Regions from separate parts of the Homo sapiens genome. Here region 1 is linked to region 2. The links are contacts of gene promoters, found by promoter capture Hi-C in human tissues and cell types (Jung and others, 2019). All regions are on one chromosome and are shown on one strand. The core of a region is centred on a gene start or on the middle of the fragment in contact, and the rest is flanking DNA. Distances in the headings are between cores, read along the strand shown. Region 1 has its middle 23 kb from the start of LINC01992. Region 2 holds the start of NOS2 (nitric oxide synthase 2).

The links. Contacts are between HindIII fragments. The study calls those that stand out against the background at their distance.
Region 1: a fragment that was not itself captured here is called in contact with the fragment with the promoter of NOS2 in region 2 in 1 of the 25 tissues and cell types used here (H1 embryonic stem cells).

Annotation. Positions count from the first base shown.
Region 1 is chr17:28,011,637-28,018,521 of GRCh38, reverse strand. No RefSeq gene overlaps it. Among named protein-coding and RNA genes, the nearest start is that of LINC01992, 23 kb to the right of the region's middle. The HindIII fragment of the contact is 4,743 bases long and covers 2,345-6,885 here.
Region 2 is chr17:27,794,877-27,802,586 of GRCh38, reverse strand. NOS2 (nitric oxide synthase 2) reads left to right here and starts at 2,058. Exons shown (of 27, transcript NM_000625.4): 1 at 2,058-2,248; 2 at 3,705-3,887. The coding sequence starts at 3,778. RefSeq lists a cis regulatory region at 1,521-1,543, an enhancer at 1,856-1,884 and promoters at 1-2,094, 1,853-2,145, 1,028-2,145, 1-2,225. The HindIII fragment of the contact is 5,928 bases long and covers 1-5,039 here.

The sequences.
Region 1 (6,885 bases), core at 3,467-5,966, 210 kb before region 2:
AAGTCCGACTGGGGGCACTGCATGGGATGACAGATCTGAAATGTGTCATCTCTGCTCTGACCCCAATCTCTGTACCCTTTTTTACTCATAAGCTTTTTATTTTAGAATGGTTTTAGATTAACAAAAACGTTGTAAAGACAGTATGGAGTTCCCATATACCGCTTACAAAGTTTCCCCTATTGCTAACATCTTACATTACTGAGGTACTTTTGTCACAACTAAAGAACCAACATTGGTACATTGTTATATATATATATATATATTTTTTTTCTTTTCTTTTCTTTTTTTTTCAGAAACAGGGTCTTGCTATGTTGCCCAGGATGGCTTCAAACTCCTGGACTCAAGCGATTCTCCTGCCTCAACCTCTCAAGTAGCTGGTACTACAGGCACGAGCCAATGCACCCTGGTATATTAATATTAACTAAACTCCACACTCTATCCAATTTCACTGTTTTTAAAAGTGTCCCTTTTTGGTTCCAGGATCCCAGGCAGGATATCACATTACATTTAGTTGTTATGTCACTTTAGCCTCCTCTGATCTGTGACACTCCCAGACTTTTCCTGTCCTTGATGACCTTAAAGATTTTAAGTGGTACTGGTATGTTGTAGAATGTCTCTCAATTTGGGATTTTTTTTTTTTTTTGAGGCAGGGTTTTACTCTGTTGCCCAGGCTGGAGTGCAGTGGTGCAATCATAGCTCGCTGCAGCCTCCAACTCCTGGGCTCAAGCGATTCTCTCATATCGACTTCCAAAGTGCTGGGATTGTAGGTGTGAGCCACCATGCTTAGATTTTTTTTTTCTTAAGACAGTCTCACTGTGTTGTCCAGGCTGGAGTGCAGTGGCGTGATTAATCAGAGCTCACTGCAGCCTTGGCTTTCTGGGCTCAGCTGATTCTCCCACCTCAGCCTCTCGAATAGCTGGGACCACAGGTGGGCACCACCACACCTGGTTAATTTTTGTATTTTTTGTAGAGGCAGTTTTCGCCATGTTGCCCAGGCTGTGCCTGATGGATTTTTTTTGAAATGAATACCTTAAATTTACTCATTTGCCCAGTTGCAAGATTCTCCAAGGCTTTATTTATGCTGGCGTAGCCAGCATCTTTTTAAAAAATGACATTTATATATACTCACTTAGGTAAATTAATGTACCCATCTCAACTGTTCCCTTTGGCTACACGGACAAACTCATATTCCAAAGAATATGACCCTAAAACTGAAAAGATGCAACAACGCTTCAGGCTTTGTGCTGATACATTTGTTAGAAACATTGGATGAGATGATACAGAGCATTTTACACCGTGCCTGACACATAATTGGCACTCAATACATATTAGCTATTGTTATTGAGAAGTACTAGGTCTTTTCTTCTTACATTTCTTGGCATTTGTTAAGTCATGACATTGTGCCAGAGATTACATGGATGGAAAGGTAAAGTGTAAGGAGTAAGGAGATGGGGTGAGAGGCATTTCATGATTTGTCAAATTTTGAATAAAGGAACCTCACTTCTTACAAAAATAAAAAGTACTGGAAATGCAGTAGTAAGTAAAGAACAAGGATGTACACCTGAAGGTAATATTATAAATCAGGAATATAGGAAAAACCACCTGGACCTGGCCTGGCTTTTTTTTTTTTTTCAGGTTCTCACTCTGTTGCCCAGGCTGGACTGCAGTGGCATAATCTTGGCAGCCTTGACCTCCCAGGCTCAGATGATCCTCCCATCTCAGCCTCCTGAGTAGCTGGGACTACAGACACACCCACTATGTCTGGCTGGCCTTGCATTTTGATTTGTTAAAAAATATTTAGTGATAACTTACTATGTGCCAGGCATTGTGTTAGGCATGAGGATACAACAGTTAATAGACAGATTTGGTTCTTACCCTCATGGAGTTTGCTGTCTACTGAGGGACACAACAGTTAATAAAGTAAACATTTCTAGCCATTGAAACTATAAATAATAACAATAAACAAATAAACAAATGGATATGCAATTATAAATTGTGGTAAACAATAACCATCTCTAACAGACAATTCAAACTCGATTTGTCCAAATTAAGTTCTTTTTTCCCTTGTGCCTTGTCCAGTGTTCTCCATCTCAGTAAATGACACCATCATTCACCAATTACTTAGGTCAAAAACCTTGAAGTGATCCTTGACTCAGAATTTTCCCATATCTCAGTCAATCTTGTCTTTTGGCTGTACCTTCCAAAGTTATCCTGAATTCAACCTCTTCTTGCCATTCCTGAGACTACCCTATTGCCCAAGGCATCATCATCTCTCACCAGGAATATACAATGCATCTTGCTGCTTTTAACCTTTCTCCTGTGAGGACTCTTCTCTGCACACCAGTAAGAATGATCCTTTTTAGCATTCTCCCCAGATATATAATGCCCAGGAATAAGTTTAACCAAGGTGATGAAAGACTTGTACACTGAAAACTATAAAAGCATTGCTGAAAAAATTTAAGGAAGACCTATAGAAACGGAAAGACATTCCTTGTTCATAGGTTGGAGACTTAATATTATTTAGATGGCAGTAAAGCCCGAAGTGATTTACATACTCAATGCAATCCCTATCATAATTTTAAAGACTTTTTTGCAGAAATGGAAAAGCCAATCCTCAGATTAAAATGTAATTGCAAAGGACCTCAAATAGTCAAAATGATATTGAAGGAAAAGAACAATGTTGGAAGAGTTATACTTCCCAATTTCAAAACTTACTACAAAGGTACACTAATTAAAACTGTATGGTACTGGCATAAGGATAGAGATATAGAAGAGAATTGAAAGTCCAGAAATAAACTCACACGTTTATGGTGCTGATTTTTGACAAGGACACCAAGTCCATGCAATATAGAAAGAATAATCTCTTCAACAAATGGTGCTGGGACAATTGGATAACCACATACAAAAAAATTAAGTTGGATACCTACTTCATACCATAAGCAAAAATTACCTTAAAATGCATTAATGACATAAATACAAGAGTTAAAACCACAGAACTCTTAGAAGAAAACAAAGATAAATCTTCATGATCTCGGATTTGGCAATGAATTCTTACATAGAACACCAAAAGTATGAGCAATAAACAAATAAATTTTGTGCCTCAAAGGATAGTTTTAGAAAGTAAAATGACAACTTACAGAATGGTCAAAAATATTTGTAAATTATATATTTGGTAAGGGTCTACTATCTGGACTATAAAGAACTCTTACAACTCAACAATAAAAAGACAAACAACCCAACTTTAAAGTTGGCAAAAAGTGCAGGGCAGGGTCGCATGTGCTTGTAGCCCCAGCTACTCAGGAGAAGAATTGCTTCAGCCTAGGAGTTCAAGTGTAGACCAGGTAATATTGCAAGATCCAGGCTCTAAGAATAAATAATTATTTTTTTTAAATGGGAAAAAACTTGAATAGACATTTCTCCAAAGAGAATGTACAAATGGCCAACAAGCACATAAAAATACTAAGCATCATTAGTTATTAGGGCATGACACCTACTAAGAGGGCTATAATTAAGAAAAGATAGATAATAGTAAGTGTTGATCAGGATGTGAAGTAATTGGAACCCTCTTATATCGCTGGTGGGAATGTAAAATGGTTCAGCCATGGTGGAAAACAGTTTGTTGGTTCCTTAAAATGTTAAATACAGAATTATCATATGACCCAGCAATTCCAAGAAGTGTATAAATGAGGACTGTATTTGTCTGCTACTCAAAGACATGTACATCCATGTTCACAACAACACTATTTACAATGGCTGAAAGGTGGAAACAGCCCAAATATCCATCAATGGATGAATGTATAAACAAATTATGGCATATCCATACAATGGAATGTTATTCAGCCATGAAAAGAAATGAAGTACGGATAAACACTACAATGTGGATGACCCTTGAAAACATTGTGCTAAATGAAAGGAGCCAGACACAAAAGGTCATCTATTGCATGATTCCATTTACATGAAATATTCACAATAGGAAAATCCAAAGAGATAGAATGAAGATTGATGTTTGCTAGAGGCTGGGGGCAGGAGAGAATAGGGAGCAACTGCTTAATGGCTAAGGGATTTCCTTTTGGGGTGATGACAATGTTTTGGAAGATAGAGGTGGTGGTTGCCCCACATTGTGAATGTGATACATGTCACTAAATTGTTCGCTTTAAAATGGTTAATTTTATGTATGAGAATTTCACCTTAAAAAAAAAAAGCCCTTGAAGGTCTGGGGTGGTGGCTCACACCTGTAACCTTTGGAAGGCCAAGGTGGGTGGATTGCTTGAGCTCGGAAGTTTGAGACCAGCCCGGGCAACATGGTGAAACCTTGTCTCTACCAAAAATATAAAAACTTAGCTGGGCATGGTGGCGTGCATCTGTGGTCCCAGCTACTTTGGAGACTGAGGTAGGAGGAACCGTTGAGCTTAGGGGGCAGAGGTTGCAATGAGCCAAGATTACTCCACTGCACTCCAGCCTGGGAGACAGAGTGAGATTCCCTCTCAAAAACAAAAACAAAAACAAATACAAAACAAAACAAAACAAACAAAAAGTCCTTTTAAGAAGATTCTATCATTTCACCATTAGTGGTTTAAGATGAGGTTGAAGAGTAAGCTTAGGCCATATCAAGCAGGGACTTGGAATCAAGCTTTATGGGATGCCAAATCATGATTAATCAAAAGCTATTCACCATGAAAGACTGCTTTCTTGGGGACCAGAAATATAGACGAGTGTTTTCTCTTCCTTTAAGAGAGGGGGCCAGAAGGTTGTTTGAAGAAGCAAGGAATTAGCACCAGGGATATTAGGTTGATTGATGCCTACTGACATCAGCCTCGGGTGGCCTGACTCATCCTTCTTGTGATAGTGATGGTTTTGCCAATGGTTCATGATACTTAAGGTCTAATTGCTGAGGCTCCCTCAGGGATGGGCACTACCAGTCCTTGCTTCAGTGGCTTCCCTTCGTCTATGTTCTCTTGACTGACCAACCTTCTCTTTCCTCTGCACTATCCATCCATTCAATTTGGCACATTCTTTAGGTTTGGTAATATCTTCAGTTATGCCTAGGAGCTGCCCCGTCTCCTTCAGGTGACTAAGCATATGTCTAATCCCATCCACATCTTATTTAAGGCCCATGGGGTGTGTGTGTGTGTGTGTGTTTTTTAATGGGCACCTCATTTATAGACTCCATGTAGCCACAATACTCCCAAAGTAACTCAAATGGCTGGATAATTCTCTGTTCAGTAGCTTTCAATTAGGACTAAATCAAGTGAAGTAAAATCATCTACGGAGATTTTCTGAACTTTATATGATTAAAATCCTACCCCAAGCTAATTCTGACAGACCAGAGGATTGGGGTGGGTGGAGTGGACAAGCATGAATATTTTAGATTATCTCTGCTGTGATTCTGAAAACCTTTCTCCATTTCCATCCTTGTGATAACTATCATATACTTCAAAGGGGCTACTGGCTCTGGGCAGGAATCTGACACACAGAGATGCTTACCAAGGTAACTGTCCCTTTAACATATGAATCCAGAGCCCAGTTGCTTTTGAAGGGACAGGAAGATCCCACAAAACTGCCTTGGATACTTCTCCATCAGCCAAGTCTTTGCCACTATTTTTGTTTCAGAACCACCCACTTAGTTGAGGCTTTCTTTCTCAGGAAAGACATTTACCCACCAGAGTTCTCACCCACCAGAGAGTGGGAAAGAAGAGAACTGGTGGAAGTAGGAGCTGCAAGGCAAAAAGAATATTTGTCACTTGCAGACTGATTCTGCCCCTCTACTACTTCTTTGCAACAGGAAAGATGGACACTACAGGGATTTAGAAGTGAAGAAAAGGGTGAATGATTTCACAATTTACTTTGTGGTGGTAGAGGGTAGAAATGCAGGTCGAATCCCCTTCATAAATGATCAAATCCCTCAACTCCTTGGAATCTGGGTTGATGAGATAAGCAGAGTACAATGCCAGCTTCAGATTACTCCAATTGCAGATGGCGGTGCTTGTCAATGGAGATGATCATTTTTCCATGGGAGATTTGGAAGATAAGAGGAAGAGGAACCAGTATTACTATTAAAATTCTAACAGCATTGAGTTGGCCATTTGATTCTTTGGGTTTGGACAACAGTAAGATATGAGTGGTTTTCAGCAGTGGAAATTTAAATCTGTCAGTGTGTCAGTAAGTTGCTTTAGAGCAATCTACCAGAGCCTGTTGGTGACAGTAAGAAATGGTTCTGTCCCACCTTTCTCCCTCAGTTTCTCTCCCTAAAAGCAAAGACCACACTAAGAGGTTCACCCTGAGAGGTGGCCAAATCAACATAGCATGGTGACTAAGCATGGTGCTTTGGAATTGCAGCTTCCAAAATGGAACTTATTTCTTTGGCAGACATAGCCAGATGTGGCCTACAGAAATATTTTGTGTGGCCCACATATTTTTTTAACTTTCATCTGAGCCAATATTTAGAAATCCCAGTATCTGCTCTCTCTTCTCTGTCTATGCCTCTCTCTCTCTCTCCACCTCCCTCTCCTTGTCTCCTTCTCTATCTCTCATATCGGAAGCTCTGGTAATACTGATCCTGCATTTCTGCATGGCAGGGATAGACTGAAACTGAGAAGTAGCATCTCTCTTGGGCAGTTCACCATAGTTCCCACCACCCACACAGCACATGGATGTACTTTTATACCCAAGGCCATTTGATCTCGGACCTCCTTTGGTGTGCAGGAAGCTATTGACATGTCCCAGACCACTCAAAACCCAAAGAAGGAAGCATCAGATGTCTAACCAGAAAAGTCTAACGAGAACCCCCAAGTGCAAACTCCCTTTAGTTGTAATGGGCAAAACACATGAGACATTCCTGTAGATAGTCCTCCTGGAAGATGTGCCATATGATGAAGAAAGCAGTGG
Region 2 (7,710 bases), core at 809-3,308:
TAATTCCAAATGTGTCCTCAAGCCTGGTGCTTGGACTCAAACCCTGCCACAGGTCAAGAATGCCACACCAAGCAGACGCTGTGTTAGAGGGGCACCTGAGGTGACATGTTTGACAGATCACATAACTGAATAACTGCATTTTCTGAAGGAAAATCAACGAAGTGCTTTGAGGCCAAGTAGATGGGATTCTTGAGGATTCCATGAATAGCAAATAGTAGTATCCCCCTCAGAGGCTCTTGGGTGGGGGCATTAAATGTGTTAATACATGTGTTTGCTGCAGGTATAGCCAGAATATGTGAAAGCAGCTACAGGGAATAGAGTGTAGCAAACTCCTAATCATCCCTCAAAACCCTGCCCTGGTGTCCTCTCCCTTGTAAACTTTCCTTGAACAAGGCAGAACCAGCTACATCAGCACCATACCATCCCTCCATCACTACAGATATCACTCTGTACTATAATTATCCATTTATTTTTCTAGGCCTTGCACTCCCTAAGGCCAGGATTCTGACTCTTTCCCTGAGTGCTGTTTACCTGAACTGAACCGGCATGAACCACCACGCCCGGCCATCTTGTCACTTTCTAAAATGCATTGCTCTTCGTGGCAGATGCTCCATAAGCCAGAGCTCTAAGCCGCAGCATTGAGCCGCAGCATTGAGCTGAAGCCTGAAGGGAAGATGGCTTTGATATGTTAAAACTCATTCCAGTTTACTCCTATTTTTCATTCATTCATCCACACATTCACTCAACAAAGATCCTTGAGCTCTGATATCCATGTCTTTTTTGTGGCTCTTAGTTTATCTTTGACAAAGTTAATATATTATGCTGAATTTAACTTGGGAAAGACAAGAAGGAAATGAGTGGACAGTGGTAGCAAAGTGTTGGGACGGTGAGATCAAGGGTGACTTTTTTTCCCTTTGCTTCTCAACTTCTCCCTAATGTAGTTGTTATTTTACTTTTATGATGGAAAAATGCATATGTATGGGAATACTGTATTTCAGGCATTATAAGGAATGAAATTATAGGCCGGGCATGGTGGCTAACCCTTGTAATCCTAGCACTTTGAGAGGCTGAAGTGGGCAGATCACTTGAGCTTCAGAGTTCGAGACCAGCATGGACAACATGGTGAAACCCAGTCTCTACCAAAAACACAAAAATATTAGCTGGGTGTGGTGGTGCATGCCTGTAGTCCCAGCTACTCAGGAGGCTGAGGTGGGAGGATCGCTTGAGCCTGGGAGGCAGAAGTTGCAATGAGCAGAGATCGTGCCACTCCGCTCCAGTCTTGGTGACAGAATGAGACTCCATCTCAAAAATAAATAAATAAATAAAATAAATGAAATGAAATTATAAGAAATTACCACTTTTTCATGTAAGAAGTGATCATTTCCATTATAAGGGAAGGAATTTAATCCTACCTGCCATTCCACCAAAGCTTACCTAGTGCTAAAGGATGAGGTGTTAGTAAGACCAACATCTCAGAGGCCTCTCTGTGCCAATAGCCTTCCTTCCTTTCCCTTCCAAAAACCTCAAGTGACTAGTTCAGAGGCCTGTCTGGAATAATGGCATCATCTAATATCACTGGCCTTCTGGAACCTGGGCATTTTCCAGTGTGTTCCATACTGTCAATATTCCCCCAGCTTCCTGGACTCCTGTCACAAGCTGGAAAAGTGAGAGGATGGACAGGGATTAACCAGAGAGCTCCCTGCTGAGGAAAAAATCTCCCAGATGCTGAAAGTGAGGCCATGTGGCTTGGCCAAATAAAACCTGGCTCCGTGGTGCCTCTATCTTAGCAGCCACCCTGCTGATGAACTGCCACCTTGGACTTGGGACCAGAAAGAGGTGGGTTGGGTGAAGAGGCACCACACAGAGTGATGTAACAGCAAGATCAGGTCACCCACAGGCCCTGGCAGTCACAGTCATAAATTAGCTAACTGTACACAAGCTGGGGACACTCCCTTTGGAAACCAAAAAAAAAAAAAAAAAAAAGAGACCTTTATGCAAAAACAACTCTCTGGATGGCATGGGGTGAGTATAAATACTTCTTGGCTGCCAGTGTGTTCATAACTTTGTAGCGAGTCGAAAACTGAGGCTCCGGCCGCAGAGAACTCAGCCTCATTCCTGCTTTAAAATCTCTCGGCCACCTTTGATGAGGGGACTGGGCAGTTCTAGACAGTCCCGAAGTTCTCAAGGCACAGGTCTCTTCCTGGTTTGACTGTCCTTACCCCGGGGAGGCAGTGCAGCCAGCTGCAAGGTGAGTTGCCTTCATTTCTGGGGAAGCGGCTGTTTTGAGAGGGTTTTGTTTCTTCCTCTTTGAGAAGGCTCAGAAAATTGTGGGAATTTTCTGCCTACAGAGAGAAGGTGTTGGAAAGTCTAGGTAAAAAAATGCCGACATGAGGTTTGGTCATTTGAACATGGCATCTTGGTCAGATTTCTTTTCTGCAAATATTAGCTGTGGTTGTTACATGACAAGGAAAAACTTTCTGAAAAGTTCAAAATGGGAGTTTGTATCTGCTAAGAATTTTTTTTAACAGAGATTATCTTATCAGTCCTTATAACATGTAACCTCCCCACAAATCCTGGTAAGATGGATATATTAAACCCATTTTATGGATGAATAAATGAGTTTCAGTTAAATAACTTGATCCAGGACACATAACTGGTAGAGCTAGGATTCCAGGATTTGAACCCAGGTCTATGGGGCTATAAGTTCTTTTCTTTCTTTCCCTCTTTCCTTCCTTTCCTTCCTGTCCTTTCCTCCCTTCCCCTCCCTTCCCTTCCCTTTCTTTCTTTTTTTTTTTTGGAAACAGCCTTGACTGCCCAGCCTCAAGCAATCCTTCTGCCTCAGCCTCCCGAGTAGCTGGGACTACAGGCACAAGACACCATGCCTGCCTGGCTAATTTTTCAATTTTTTGTAGTCAAGGTCTCCCTATGTTGCCCAGGCTGAACTCGAACTCTTGGACTCAAGCGATCCTCCTGCCTCGGTCTCCCGAAATGCTGGGATTACAGGCGTGAGCCACTGCACTTGGCCTAAAATTCTTACATGGACTATATTCACTACACTGTCTTCTAAAGACAGAGTTTTTGCCTCTTTGATCTTCCTCTTGTCTGTTTCAAAGGAGATGATCTCAGATTTCGAGGGATGAGTGCATTTTTCACAAATATTTCCTCCCCACATAATAAAAGAGGAGCAAGTAATAATGCTGAGTTAGAACAACAACTGCAAAATCTTTAAAAGAAAGGTAGCTACAGCTTGAGTGCTTTCCCCAGTAATAGACCTAAAACTACAGTTGATAATGAGAGCTGCTGGGAAGTGTCTTTCAGGGTCAGGCAAAGGCACCCCTGTTTCAACGACCTCCGGGCTCTTCCTCACCCTGCCTGTGGCCAGTGATGAAGCCTGGCTGGGTCTGGTGGGCCAGCAGGTCCCGCTAAGGAGGCTCATGGTGCATACAGTTTGTCCTTGTTAAGTGGCGATGGGGATGGGGGGGTTCATTGTTTTTCCTTAAGATTATTAGGTGGCTTTACAGAATTGAAGTCTGTGTCCGAAGGCTCCCCATTCCAACCCCGAAATAGAGACAGAGGTTGCAAAGCATTGATGAAGGGGCTCATGCTGGCGTTCATATCGATTCCCCAGTGAGCCAACCCCACTGAGAAGCCCTGTTCTGTAAACTCTTCTTCAACCTTCCCTCACCTCTGCTTCCCTTCTTCAGCCCCACAGTGAAGAACATCTGAGCTCAAATCCAGATAAGTGACATAAGTGACCTGCTTTGTAAAGCCATAGAGATGGCCTGTCCTTGGAAATTTCTGTTCAAGACCAAATTCCACCAGTATGCAATGAATGGGGAAAAAGACATCAACAACAATGTGGAGAAAGCCCCCTGTGCCACCTCCAGGTGAGTTTTCCCTGGGGGAACCTCCTGCTTGTCTCCTTGGGCACCCATGCCCTGTCGGCACCGATGACTCAGAATTCCTCTCTCTGCTCCTCCTCTCTCACCTGAGGTCTGATCTCCTCATTGCTTCTTGAAAGTCCCTGTTGGAATTCAATGCAGCCGCTGATTATTGGGCACCTCGCTGTGCCTGACGGTATGTGAAGAAGGAAGGGACATGGTGCGGGGCTGGCCCTGAAGAAGCTTGGAATCTTTGGGGAAGAATATGGGAAGGAGCTTGGCCTGAGAATGGGAGGCAGTAGAGCCTCGTGGTGGGCACCATGGCGGAGGGGTGGGGGTGGAGGGTCAGCATCCTGGCCTGCGTCCATTCCAATTCACCGCTTGCTAGATGCTTTGAATATCATCCTGGTGAAGGGCATCAGGATGTTAGACAAACTAGTTCCAAGCCCTGTGCTGGCCGCACTAGTTGCCGGGTGCTGCCTCTAGCCAGCTGTGTGACGCAGGGTAAGTTAACCTCTCTGAAACTTAGTGCTCACCTGTGGTATGAGGAACCCAAGGGGGCCCTCACCATAGTGTGCTGAGGATGAAATGAGATCTACAGCACTCAGCACTGTGCCCACACAGAACAGACACTTAGTCCACATCAGGGTTCATCACCATCTACTGAGTACCTGCCCTTGCCAGAGCTACACAGGCCACTTGACAGACTTTGCATCTCAACTGATCTCTGTGGCGGCTCTTTGAAGTTCATATGATTGACTCATTTCACAGATAAGGAAATAGAAGCTCTAATAGGATTATGACTTCCCCCAGCCTGAATGACCGGTAATTACAGAGTTTACAGAGTTGGAACTTGAGCCCAGATTTGGATTCTTCATGTCCCTCCTCCCCGGGCCCATCCTTCCTCCCAGGGCAGAACCAAGAGAATGAGTCAGTTAATGAACAAGTCAAGGGACAGGCTTGAGGCTCGCTCAGGTGGAAAGACAAAGCAATCTGCAATAACGCAATAGTGCAACTGAAACCAAAGCCCCCATCTACACAAGACCACCACATAGCCACACAACCCCACCGCCCCAGAGGAGCCTTTCCCATGGACTACAAAGGGTAGGGCGCCCCCTGGATGTGTACAGCATGACGGCCCTGAGTGTATCTGTCAGAGGCGGCAAAAAATGCCAGTGGCTAAGAGGATGGGCTTGGGGATGAGCAAGTGGCTTTGCCACTCAGTAGCCCTGTAACCTTTGGCAAGTCCCCTAGCCTCTGAGCCTCAATTTCCTCCTCTATAAGAAGAGGGTAACAATGGTGATTTCCTGGAGTTGGAGGAAGGAGTAAATGAGCTTTCCCATGTGAGCAACTTAGCACAGGGCCTGGCCTGGAGTAAGTGCTCAGCAAATGGCACTGTTGGCATTGCTATCATTAGCGGTGGTGTTGGCAGTTAGGAGGTGATGGAGCAAAATTGAACAGAGTTCCCTCTAGGGGCTTCACAGAAGTCAGGTGGACTCTGTGGCCTTTGAAGTATGGGTAGAATGTAGACAGGTGCAGAGGAGTAGCAAGGACATTCAGGAAGAGGGGAGAGGTGAGCAGAGGCTCAGAGGCAGAAATGAGCCTGACTGTGCTTGGCCAGGAGTGGGCTGGGGGCTGGGATAGGCAAAGCCAGGCCAGAGCACAAGGGCTTGAATGCAGGGTAGGAGATTTGGACTCGCTCTCCCTGGCAGTAGGGAGCCATTGTAGGTTCTTGAGCAGGACAGTCTAGCTGTGGTGTGGTAGGTGAATTGGAGGAGAGGACTTTGAAACCAGGCAGTCTGGGCTATGGCAACTGAGGTGGCTAAGAGACCAAGAGGTGAGAACACAGAGTTGATGGCCTCTAGATGTCCAGATTCTAAGGGCTGTAGAGGGGCAGTGGCTTCGCCCCTTCCTTCTCTTCATCTCATCATTGCAGCCGCTGCCAGCTGACCTCCCTGACTCCAGCTCCCCACACTGGCTCTGAGCTCTCTCTTGCCAACTGGACTTCTAGCAAGTCACGCCCCTATTCTAGAGCCTGCAGTGGCTCCCCATTGCCTGTCACCACATTAAAGCTTCCACAGAGTTCTGAGCGAGCACCCTACCCAAATGGAGAGCCCATCCCACCTGCCCATCCCAGCCTTCCTCAGCTCCCCAGTGCCTGTGCATAGCACATTCCTCCCTCAGCTCATCCAGACCCAACTCATCCCCTATTTTTTTCTTTTCTATTTTTATTTTTTATTATTATTATTTTTAGACAGGGTCTCACTCTGTTGCCCAGACTTCAGTGTAGTGGCTCCATTTCAGCTCACTGCACTGCAACCTCCACCTGCCAGGTTCAAGCGATTCTCCCACCTCAGCCTCCTGAGTAGCTGGGACTACAGGCATGTGCCACCACGCCTGGTTAATTTTTGTATTTTTAGTAGAGACGGTGTTTCACCATATTGGCCAGGCTGGTCTCGAACCCCTGACCTCAAGCAATTCTCCTGCCTTGGCCTCCCAAAGTGCTATTACAGGTGTGAGCCACCGCACCTAGGCTTCTTTTTTCTTTCCTTTTCTTTTCTCTCTTTCTCTCTCTCTTTTAAAGCTGAGAATCTTGCTCTGTTGTCCAGGCTGCCCTCGAACTCTGGGCCCTAGTGATCTATCTGCTGTCTTTCCGGATCACCCTGAATCTCCCAAAACCCTTACGGTGTTGGCTGCAGCCTTTAACCCTCATCCCCACACCCTCTAATAGCATTGCCAGTTATCCCTATGTCTTTGGGGGCTGACTTGTGTCTTTGGACCATTCAGGAAATATGAGTTCAGACTCCAGGGAGGGCCCTGAGCTGCAGTGGACATGTGACAAACCAGCTAACTTGACCATGTTTTTCCCCCTCCTCTTCATGCTGGGGTGGGCTGGCGGAAAGGATCCAGTCAGATAGAAGAGGGGATGAAGAAAAAAATATCACACATCAATTCATTCAACTCTCCCAACGATCCACAAGGAAGGAATTTTAGTTATCCCATTTTAAAGATGAGGACCCTGAAGCCCAGAAAGTTAAAGTAATTTTCAAGATCTCATAATTAGCAAATGACAGAGCTGGGATTCAGATCCAGGCAGTCCAGAGGGACCCCTGCATGGGGCTGCCACCTTTGTGTCCTGGGCATGTCACATTCCATTGACGAGTACATGCAGATGCCCACTCCCCTGGCTCTGTGCTGGGAGTTAAGATATCAATGAAACCCTTCTGCTCATCAGTGAATTGTTTGAGCCACTTATTACTTACATACACCACTGCTAAAAACAATAGATAACATTTATAAGGTCCTTAGTACTGTGTCAATAATGAGACAGGAACTATTATCCTTGTTTTACAAGATTGAGTGACTTACTGGAGGTCAATTCCTGGAAAATAGTGGAGCTAAGGTTTGAGTCAAGTCCAAACTCATAACATCTACACTATCTGTGCTCTCCCAGAGGGCCTACTGTGTGCTGCACTGTTCAAGAGACAGAGAAAAATGACCCAGTTCCTGCTGTCAGGAAGGAAACGGGGAAACGGATGTCTTCCTCGCTGGTTTGGGAGACGTACATGAAGAATGCGAGTTGGAGAAATTGTGTCAGGAGTAGGTGGGATGGAGTGTAGACAGGAGGTCGTAGTTGTGGGTGTACTGGGACCGTGCTAGAGGCCTCTGCTGGGGAGACTGCAGAGGTGCCTGGGCAGGCTGTAGTGTGGGGAGGAGTTGGGGGGAGGAGGTGGGTCCACCCAGAGTGCAACATCCACTCAGGTGAGGGAGGGGTGATGTTACTGGAAGAGGAAGCAGCCGTGCAAAGGGGATTTCATCCTGAAAGCAA